2 separate regions of the Homo sapiens genome follow, and region 1 is linked to region 2. The links are contacts of gene promoters, found by promoter capture Hi-C in blood cells and fetal thymus (Javierre and others, 2016). All regions are on one chromosome and are shown on one strand. The core of a region is centred on a gene start or on the middle of the fragment in contact, and the rest is flanking DNA. Distances in the headings are between cores, read along the strand shown.

What was found. Contacts are between HindIII fragments. The CHiCAGO score rates a contact against its expected background, and 5 or more counts as called.
Region 1: a fragment that was not itself captured here is called in contact with the fragment with the promoter of BNIP3 in region 2 in 1 of 17 cell types (activated CD4 T cells); the score reaches 5.6 in activated CD4 T cells.

What each region holds. Positions count from the first base shown.
Region 1 is chr10:104,343,913-104,349,540 of GRCh38, forward strand. It overlaps a transcript of CFAP58 not described here. Among named protein-coding and RNA genes, the nearest start is that of CFAP58-DT, 6.8 kb to the right of the region's middle. RefSeq lists a silencer at 2,238-2,297 and an enhancer at 5,571-5,628. The HindIII fragment of the contact is 904 bases long and covers 1,255-2,158 here.
Region 2 is chr10:131,977,999-131,983,575 of GRCh38, forward strand. BNIP3 (BCL2 interacting protein 3) reads right to left here and starts at 3,925. Exons shown (of 6, transcript NM_004052.4): 1 at 3,763-3,925. The coding sequence starts at 3,808. RefSeq lists an enhancer at 3,104-4,028 and silencers at 3,436-3,665, 3,896-4,195, 4,246-4,435, 4,476-4,595. The HindIII fragment of the contact is 3,266 bases long and covers 3,175-5,577 here.

The DNA.
Region 1 (5,628 bases), core at 457-2,956, about 28 Mb before region 2:
TCCTATTTTTTGCAGAGATAGGGTCTCAGTATGTTGCCCAGGCTGGTCTCAGACTCCTGGGCTCAAGTGATCCTCCTTCCTCGGCCTCCCAAAGTGCTGGGATTACAGGAGTGGGTCACTATGCTTGGCTAGAAAATATTTCTTTAAACTACTCTTCTAACTCACATCTCTGTTTTGAAAACTGTTATTGGTTTATGTATGTTAATTTTCCATCTACATATGCCACTTGGCTTGGGAAAGAACAGTCAGATGATTGCCATCCAACTTATTTCTGGTCAGTAGATATTCATTGCTCTCCTTGTAGTTAATGTCTAAAGATGGTACCCTTGCCTTTGACACAGATCATTATGCTGTAACCTTAGGAATACCTTAATTCACTTATTCATTCATCCATCCATTCATTCAACAAATATTTCAGCACCTAATCTATGCCAGGCATTGTCTAAATCAGGAGTTGGCAAACTATGGCTGTCAGGCCCAATCCAGAGTGCCACCTGCTTCTATAAATACAATTATATTGGCTCAGCCATGGCCATTCATTTATGTGTGGTCTATGGCTGCTCTGGGGCTCTAACAGCACAGTTGAGTAGCTGCCACAGAGACCATGTGGCCCGTGAAGCCCAAAATATTTCTTTTTTTCCTACCTGTCCTCAGGATACTTCTATTTTTTTTCTACCAGAAAATATTTCTTAATGTGGTCTTTTATAGAAAAAGTTTGCAAACCTTGGTGCTAGATTCTAAAATGCAATGGTATCTTAGACTGGTCTCTGCTGTCCTAGAGGTTTAAATTGTCCTGCTTAATTTAAAAAGGTTTGAGGCTTTTTGCCTCCCTTGCATTGCCTCAAAAAGCACCTGTTCCCAGTAAATGCTCAGCAGGCATTTGCTTCTACTAAAATCATCCAGTAGGTCTTGCAGCAGGTATTGGCAAGAAAGCAACATACCTAACAGGCAGAAAAGAGGCATGGTGGCTCACGCCTGTAATCCCAGCACTTTGGGAGGCCAAGGTGGGTGGATCACCTGAGGTCAGGAGTTTAAGACCAACCTGGTTAACACAGTCAAACCCTGTCTCTACTAAAAATACAAAAATTAGCCGGGCATGGTGGCACATGCCTATAGCCCAGCTACTCGGGAGGCTGAGGCAGGAGAATGCCTTGAACCCTCAAGGAGGAGGTTACAGTGATCCGAGATTGTGCCATTGCACTCCAGCCTGGGCGACAGAGTGAGACTCTGTCTCAAAAAAAAACAAAAACAAAAAGCTTATTCCTTTAATATAGCAGATTTCATTTTATAGATGCCTATCCTTGTTGCCTATGAGAGTTCAGTAGTCAACTTTTTTTGAGTACTGATTGTGTGTCCCACCTTGTGGGTAAGAAAAAAAAGACATAGTTCTTTGGTATTTACATTGAGGATAAGAAAAAAATGAGATAAGTGCATTTTATTGTAATCCTTACTACCTGTACTTCTGTTTGGGATCTTGGTGTGTACTTGGAAGTAATTTTAACCACTGTAGAATCTTAAATGTTCGTGTACTGATACCTTTCACCTTCCTTTAGTCACTAATCACTCCCAAGAGTAATTGCTGTGTGTGTGAGTTTATAAGTTAATTGTATCTTGCATTCATTCATCAAACTTTTTACTTCTAGTGTCTCCTATGGGGCAGCACCATAGATGTATTAAAGAAAAGACTGGTCCTCCCAGTCTGGTGGGGAGACATAGAAGTGAACACACAATGATAATGCAGTGAATTGACAGAAGATGCTCAGTCTTTCCAGCAGCACAGAGGAGAGGTAATTAACTGGGTAAGATTTTTTGGATGAGGCAACACTGAGCTGCCACTTGAAAGAGCTAACTGGACAAATAAGGAGTCATTGGATTTTCCAGAAAAGGGATCAGCATTTGTAAAGTCTAGAGGTGTTTGAAAATAGAGACTTTCAGGGGATAGTAGATATAAAAGCATTGGCCCATCATCAAAGGTATTTTGTGCTTTGGTTTTTAAAATTTTTAAAATATATTCACTGTGTTCATCTGCTTGTATTGCTATAAAGGAATATCTGAGACTGGGTAATTTATAAAAGAGAGAGGTTTGTTTTGGCTCATGGTTCTGCAGGCTGTGCAGGAAACATGGTTCTAGCAACTGCTTCTGGTGAGGGCCTCAGGAAGCTTATAGCCATGGTGGAAGGCGAAGTGTGAGCTGGTGTGTCACGTGGCAAGAGAGGAAGCAAGAGTGAGAGAAAGGATGTGCCTGACTCCTTTAAACAAACGGATCTCATGTGAACTGTTAGAGTGAGAACTCACTCATTACCTCTGCACCAAGCCATTCATGAGGGATCTACCCCCCATGACCCGAACACCTGAGGTAGAAACATTGGAAGTCATGTATCAACATGAGATTTGGAGGGGTCAAAGCATCCACACCATATCATTCACTTATTTACTTTTGTTTGTTTGTTTTTGAGACAGGGTCTTGCTCTGTCACCTAGGCTGGAGTGCAGTGACATAATCATAGCTCACTGTAACCTCAAACTCCTGGGCTCCAGTGATCCTCCCTCCTCAGCCTCCTGAGTAACTAGGACTACAGGTGTGCAACACCACGCCCAGCTCATTAAAAAAATTTTTTTTTGTTTAGATACCAGGTCTTGTTATATTGTTCAGGCTACTTATTTACCCACTCATTTATTTATTTATTATTAGTGGGAATAGGTTGTATGGAGCCATTTAGTCTTTTTTTTTTTTTTTTTTTTGAGACCAAGTCTCACTCTGTCGCCCAGGCTGGAGTGCAGTGGTGCGATCTTGGCTCACTGCAACCTCCGCCTCCTGGGTTCAAGTGATTCTCCTGCCTCAGCCTCCCAAGTAGCTGGGATTACAGGGGCCCACCACCACATCTGGCTAATTTTTGTATTTGTAGTAGAGACAGGATTTCACCATGTTGGCCACGCTGGTCTCAAACTCCTGACCTCAAGTGATCTCCCTGCCTCAGCCTCCCAAAGTGCTGGTATTACAGGAGTGAGCCATCGCGCTTGACCCACTTAAGCTTTTTAACCAATCTGGTCCACCGATTGACTTGTGCACGTCCTTACCAGTCCTGAGTAGGACATCAAACTGCAACCTTGGTGTCTTGGGCAAGAAGCACCAACTGAATGATCTAGCCTAACCAGTCATACCCAAAAGTAATCTGTGTGGGAGAAGAGAGCAGCTGCTTTTAAGCCAATAAAATTCAAGGCAGGTAAGACGACTGGGTAGTTATGACACTGCTGTCTCCTTCTCCTGGTAAAAATGCTTACCCGCTGTGGCTGCTCCCTCAGTGCTTCTACCTGGTGCCTGACCTTTCAGTCTTCCTAATAAATCTGCCTGAGCTTCGGTGCCTCCTCAGGTGTCACGAGGGGAGTTTGTCTGGAGACCCTTTGGGAGCTGATGTCAAATGCTCAACAAATGTTCTGTTAAGTTAGTGCTGCAGTAGTCTGGAAAAGGAGAAGATTAAAGGAATAAAATATGCCCCCAACAGTTTTGGAGAACACTAGCCAGTGGGGACTCTGCTCTGTCATCTAAGGTGACCATATGGTTGGCTGATAAATGATAACAATTTTCTGTAACACGTGGGCTTTTCATCTTCCCAACAGTCTGGAGGAAAAATATTAGATATGATGACAGGAGCAGTTTTTACCATGTCGTTAAGGGCCCCAAATGTAGTTTTTAGATTCCATAGACACTAAATCCAGCAATGCCACAAGAATGCCTGTGCAAACAGGATCTGTGTTGATGCAGGCTTTAAAATTTTTTTTTTATTTCTGATATATACAAAGAAAACTCACTTCATCTAGCTTAAACAAATAAGGTTATTTTGTTAGGAGGATACAAAGTATCTAGCAGAATCCAAGAGAGCAGGTGTTGCTGGGTCTCTCAAGGGACCTGCCACCAGGTTCCCACAGGGCATCGGCCACCAAGGAAGAAGCTCCCTCTCCCATCTTTCGCTTCCTGTTTTTGGTCTGTGGATTCCCCTCATTTATTTGCTTTATTCTTCCCTCCATACAGCCTGCCTTTCTCTGCCTCTCCTGGGCTTCACATGCTCAGTTCCAGACCTGAGCAATGATTGACTTGCTCTTGGTCCCTGTTATAAATTCCAAGGGAAAATAATAGAACTGGCTTCATGTGGGTCAGGTCTCCACCTTGACCCATCAGCTGTGGCCCTGGGGAGGTATGTAGGGTGGCCTAGAGCATCATGGCTTCAGAGAGGGACGTAATTCTGGGTGGGAGTTAATAATCTCAGAGGAGATTGTGGATGATACAGACACCCCCAAAATAGCCTCTGGGACCTCTCTGATCTATGACAGAGGTCGATTTCTGTCAGGGCACAATTGCTTTGCATTACAGGCTAGGAATTTACATGTAGGCCTGCAAGTCAGTGTTTCTGCTTTTTTGGAGGTTTACTTCATATCTTCACTGGGTACTATTGAAGAGGTGAACACTGGGTATAAATACTGTTCTTATTACTGTGTTACAGCACGCACCTGAGAAGTTCTAAGAGGCGATTCTATCCAGGTTTAAATAAGGAGCTTTGCAGAGGTAGTATATCTCATGATCATGTATTTGAGATATCTGGCAGAAAAAATGGGTGTGTTCTTGACTGTCCCTAGTCCTTGAGTTTGGAGGCACTTCTCTTCTATCCTTCCAAGGCTCTCTGCTATTCACCCATGCCCTCTTGTCAACTTTAGTGTCCACAAGTACCTGATAGGGACCTCACCCTGCCTAAAGCAGGATTTTTGGATTCTTGCCTTGGTTTCTGCCCAGTGCTGTTCCCCATACTTGAGATTCTTTTAACTTCCTTCCGTGTCTCTAACTCATACATATCATTTAAGGTCAAGTTCAAGAGCCATGTCTACCATGTACCTTTCTTTAAGATGTCATGGTTCACTGGGCTTCCTTACTTTAGAACTCATTCAGTAGTGATTCACTGAACAGTTACTTATACAGCAGAGTGCTGGCTGGTTATGTTAGTTCGCTAGGGCTGTTATAACAAAATACCACAGACTGGGTGGCTTAGAAAACAAAAATTGAGGCCAGGTGTGGTGGCTCACACCTGTAATCCCAGCATTTTGGGAGGCCACGGCAGAAGGATCACTTGAGGTCAGGAGTTTGAGACCAGCCTGGCTAACACGTTGAAACTCTGTCTCTAACAAAAATATAAAAAATTAGCTGGGTGTGGTGGTGTGCACCTGTAGTCCCAGCTACTCTGGAGGCTGAGGCAGGAGAATCGCTTGAACCTGGGAGGCGGAGGTTGCAGTGAGCCGAGATTGTGCCACTGCACTCCAGCCTGGGCAACAGAGTGAGATTCCGTCTCAAACGCCTCCACACCAAAACAAAACAAAACAAAACAAAACAAACAAAAAAATTGATTTCCTCACAGTTATGGAGGTTAGAAGTCCAAGATCAAAGTGTCAGCAGGTTTGAATTCTTCTGAAGCCCCTCTCTTTGTTGTGCAGATAGTCTCCTTTTCACTGTCATTCCTCTCTGTGCACACATCACATACCTCGTGTCTCTTTGTGTGACCAATTTTCCTCTTCTTGTAAGGATACCAGTCTGATCGGCCTTATTTTAACTTAATCACCTCTTTAAAGGCTCTATCTCCAAATA
Region 2 (5,577 bases), core at 2,675-5,174:
GGGCTTACAGTAAGGTTGCTTAATAACCTTAGAAAACTTGCTCATAATCACAAGCAGTTTACACTTCAAATCACTGTAGTATAATTAGGCCCCAGACGGAAAGGTGCTGCTGTTGCTGCTGCAAGAAAAGCCCTCCTTCCTAATCTCATTTCGCGTCCCTCTCATGTTCCTCCCCCTCCTCACTCACTTATAATTTACATTGCTAACAAGACACACAGCCAGTAAATCTTACCTCCCTCCTATATCAAGGTAGATGAGATTTTGAAAAGCCTAGACTATAAATATTTATATCACAGTACAAAAAGAAAACTGATAGGTCTGCCTCAGAGACAAAATACAGTCCAACAAGAGTTCTTAATCCATTTCTTATTCTCACTTTGTGTAAAAAAAAAAAAAAAAAATCATCTGACATCCAGCTTTTCTAGGTGCCCAAAGCAGTTCTCCCTCCAGTGACAGACTCCAGGGAATCCCTTCGATTCACTGCCCTCTGTATGTCCCAGGGCAACTCCCTGGGTCCCATTCCTCAACATGGATTCATGGGCCACAGCCACGAGCCCCACGTGGAGTAAACACAGGGCCAAGTTCTCAAGGCCACCCTATGCCCTAACCTGGGGTGACAACCTCAACTCTGGCTATGAAGGGAGAATCACCTGTGGTGTTTTTTCATTGTTCTCCAAAAGCCTAGCCTCAGCCCACTCTGAAAGTGACTATTTGGGATGCTGGGGTGGAATCCAGGCAAATAGATTGAAAAAGCTCTGGGATAAATGTCAGAACAGAGGGAGGCAGCATCCCAGAAAAAAAACCTGAAGCAGAGGAGCTGTGAACCCCCGAGGGAACTAGCACCCCAAAACCATACAAAGGGCTTCTTCCCCAGGGGAGGTGGGCTCTAAGAAATTGCTGTTTTACCTTTAAAGCTTCTCAGGTTAGTGGGGAGAGAACAAAAGAGACCCGCCTGACAAAAGATTTCAAGTATCAAGTCAGCTGGGTAGGTAAATCAGGTCCCTGGCTTCCAACGGGGCTCGTTTCCCTCCACCTTCCTGTTGCCTCCAGGACCTCTGGCCTCCTCTCCTCCAGGACCCTCCAGGGCCTATTGCACGCAGCCTCAGGCATCTGGGCTCCAGGTATCCCACTGCTGCCTCATGCAGAGACCTTGGCTTCTCCTTAAGTGTTGTTGCCAGCCTTATCTTTCACTCCACCTCTAGAACCTCATTGTGACCATCTATGAAATGCAAGTCTTGGACGAGAATCTCGATGTCTGCAACCCCTTCAGGTCTCAAAGCACACAATGCTACAACTCCACTCCAAAATAAGTAGAAAACATCTTTTCCCCTCATACAACTTTGCCCATGGTGAGTTGCCTCTGACAAGAGAGAGAACCATCTGCCAGTTGCAGACACAGCAGTGGGTGAAGAGGTGAGGGCTTGGATTATTAAACACGGCCCTCCAGAGTAAATGGGCATGCACTTTACTGAACTGATGCCCTCCTGGTGAAGACAGTGGGTCCTTCAAGGAAGTGATGCCCCCGCCACCGTGACACGGTCTCGTCACAGAATCCTACCTCTCCTGCATGTTAGCAGTGACATGTCTAGGAGAAAAGGGCCAAGTTCATGGCTACAGTGAGCTATAATGATTGTGCTACTGCACTCCAGCCTGGGGGAGTAAGACTGGGCTTGTAAAAAAAAGGAAAAGGACAAATACGAGCATCCTGCGAGTCAACAACTTTAGCTAGAATGATCAAGAGATAGAAAGGAACAGAATCAGCCCATTTTGCCATTAACTCTTTAGGAAAAGCAGTTGGCCCCAGAGGGTACACTCAGAGGAGAGAGTGCTTGCTGCTTCCATCCGTGGGTCTGGCTGCAAGGCTCCCATTGTTCTCTGTTCCGAGGTCAACAAGGGGCAGTGAAATCGGACAGGCAGAGGTGAGCGCTGCCTGAGCCACCGCTCCGTCCCGGATTTGCAGGCAGCTGGAGCCCGCGGGACCGGCCAACCCCGCCCACGCCGAGCCCACAGTGGCCCCGTCCTGCCGCGCGGACACTCAGGGCGGCCCAAGGAATCGCCTACATGGGATCCACCCCGCGGGTAACTATCTTTTTATAGAATAAACAAAACAGAAAAACAAAAATCTCGTAACTCCGGCGCTGGCCGCCTTGCACTGCCAATGACTCAGCAGCCTGTGTAAGTTACATATTGGAGAGAGGACCGAGCCCCCCGGAGCCCCCTCCACCTCCCAGCGCCCAGATCCCAGCCGGACAGTGAAACGCACAATGTCAGGAGTAACGCGGCTTCACAACCGGAAAATGGGTGATTTTATGGCAAAGAGTTTATAAAAACATCCCTTGGACTTTATTTTATGACAAAAGATAGGAAAACACCTCTTAATCTATTTCAAAATAGTAATTAGCCAATGTTTAAATTTCAAGAGGAAAAATCCGAATTACAGGATTTTAAAGAATATGGTTTTAGGCCAGGCGCGCCTGGTGGCTCAGGCCTATAATCCCAGCACTTTGGGAGGCCGAGGCGGGAGGATCGCTTGAGCCCAGTTCAGACCAGCCTGGGCAACACAGTGAGACCCCGTCTCTTAAAAAAAAAAAAAGGTAAAAAAAAAAAGCTTGTAGTGTTCATATGTATATATATATATTATTCAATATATTACGGTAACTAAGTCCTGCCTAGTAAAATCTTTTTTTTTGTAATAAAATTAGCAACTCACTAAATTTATGTGAATATATGGTTTTAAAAACTCTCAATGAAGATTAAAAGTTCACTGTCAGAGGTTTCAGCAGTCCTTTCCCAAGCTTATTTACATGCTAATTTTGCTTAGTAAACTCTGGCTTCAAAGAACACAAAGGTCAGCTGCCACCAGGTCCCTCCTCCGAGGCTTTGGCCCTAGGGACCCTGGGAAGGCGGCTTCAGTGCCCGCTTCCCTGAGCAAAGGCTCGTCTGGACTCTGACGCGGACCCACCGGGTGGGGTGGGTCTCCACGCCACCCGGCTGTGCGTGGGGCAAGTCCTGCACCCCGGGCCTGCGTTTCCCGCTGCGTGAACGGATGGTCTTGCGAATCTAGCCAAGGGCACACAGCGAGCCTCTACTCGGGCATTAGGCAGGCTGTAACGACTGAGTGCTGCACGGGCAGCGTCCTTTTGCTTGTGTTTTCTTAACCCGTAAGTCATTTAAAGCTTTGTTTTGGAACGACCCTCTAGTGAAATTGGAACATGCCCATTTAATGCCATATTTTAAAAACGCTGTAACCCCCTCCCATCTCCGCGTTCACCCTTGAGGAAATCCTAACAGTCACCATGGATATAAACATTAATAACAAAATTAAAGCTCATAACAGGCCACTTGCCACGCCTTGGTGTTTGGTCATTAAAACCAATACTGGTCTGAACTACAGACCGCGGAGGGCAACGTGGACTTTGAGGCTGTTCGGTCCAACTGCGAGACGCAGATTCACCTCCAGGTGGAATTCTAGCTCGCGCGGAGCTGGAGAATCGGGGCTTTCCCGTGCGGTCCGACCCGGGTCCAAGCCAACCCCCGCCCGAGTGGCGAGGCCGCGAACCCCGGGCAGTACGCGGGGTCCCCACGCCCCGGGCTCCGCATGCCCGCAGGAGGGGTGGGTACGGAAGGGGAGGATGGCGCAGCCTCGCCCGGCCCGCGATGCCCCCTAGGCCTCCCCGGCAACCTCCCCTTGGCGCCCTCTTGGCCTTCCCCAGGCTTCCCCCCCGCGCCCCCTCGGCTCCCGCGCCGCCTCCTCCGCCTCACCCTGCAGGCTCTCCTCCTGCATCCCGGGCGCTCCGTTCTGCGACATGGCGCCAGAGGGCAACTGCGGCGATCGGAGTCCGCGCCGGGCTGCGGGATGTGCTTCAGCTGCGGGCGGTGGGAAAGCGGAGGTCGGAGCGCCGCGGCCCAGCTGCGCTCCCGGACTGAGCGGAGCCCCGCAGCCCGGCCGGAGGAACTCACAGGGCAGGGCGGGGCCGGGCGGATCTGCGGCCGCGTCGCCCATTGGCCGCGACTTGGGGCCTGCGCGTGCGCAGGGGCGTGGGGTGCGTGTGGCACGTGCGGCGCGTGCGCGGGGCGGGTCCTGCGGTGGGCGAGGGGCAGAGGCCTGCGGTGCGCGGGACGCGGGCGGGGAGAGGGGCGGGGCGAGGGGCGCGCAGGCGCGAGGGCGGCAGCGACCGCCTGAGGTGAGCCGGCCCGGGCTGGACGCCGCGGGCCGCGTGACGAGTGGGCTGCGCGGTCGCCGCCGCGGCGGGCGGTGGGCCGGGTTCTCCTTTGAAGGGGCGGTGGGACCGGCGGACTCTCTGGGCACTGGCTACCACGGAGACGCCGCTACGCTTCGGGGCGGGGCCCGTCTTTCCATCCTGCTAGTGGGGAAACTGAGGCGCGGGGCTGGCGGCGTCCGTGCGGGGGGCGTGAGGACGTGCAGGGAAGCGGCCGCTGCGGCTCCGAGACGGCCCGTGGGGTCGGGACCTGCGCCCGGGGCGGGAGCTGCGAGCGGTGGGCCGGAGCTGAGCGTCTCGGGACGGGACCGCGTCCCCGGGTCTTTGCCCGCCCCGCCGGGGCGCCCCTGCGTGAACAGCGGGGCCCGTTGTGTCCGGGGCGTCCGCCCGCAGGAAGAAGCGGAGGCTCGAGCAGAGTCGAAAGAGTCTGCCCGAGGGAGGCGCGGACCCCAGGGGCCCGGGAGAGGCGCGCCGTCCGCCTCTGCGGCAAGGGGCCTCCGGGGTGCAAACGCGGTGTGGGGCGGGCGTCCCCGGGGTGGGACGCCCCGTCCACGGGGCGGAGTGGCGCTTGGTCGGGCCGGGTGGGTGCCCGGCTTCCGTGGGAGCCAGCCTGGCGTGGGGGCCTCGCAGCCTCGGGACTGGGAGGCACTTTTCAGAGGAAAGTCGCTTTCTCATTTCCCGCTTTTGATCAAAAGTCTTTCTTCTTGAAAGCATTGTTGATCCAAATCCAAGTGTCAAGGTGCGCCCCAGAAACGCTGCTTCCCAGACAGTCGTGTCTGGTCTTGCGGGAAAGGAGGAGGCGTCCCGCCAAGGAACCAGGCGCTCAGAAGCTGAACCGGGGTCACAGAGCCGCGAAGCCAGACCTCAGTCGCTGCGTGCATTTCATCCCTGCTCTTGCCTGTTGAATCGTCTCTAGTCTTTGGAGTGCCATGATTTTAGTTTTCTCAGGAGTAACAAACATCCAGAGGCCAGTGTGGGGCGCATGTCTTTCATCTCAGCACTTTGGGAGGCCGAGGCAGGAGGATCGCTGGAGCCCAGGAGTTGGAGACCAGTCTGGGCAATATGGCGAAACGCTTTCTCTCCCCTAAAAAAATACAAAAAACTTAGCTGGGTATGGTGGCACCTGCTGTGGGAGGATTCCTTGAGCCCAGGAGGTAGGGGCTACAGTGAGCCATGATCAGGCCACTACCCTCCAGCCTGGGCAACAGTGTGAGACCCTGTCTCAAAAAAAAAAAAAAAAAAACCGCCAGAGATACATAGCATAGCATTAATAATTTCGATAGTAGAACTGTAGTGCTGGCCAGGCAGTGGTTCTTGTGTGTAATCCCAGCATTTGGGGAGCCCAAGGCAGGAGGGT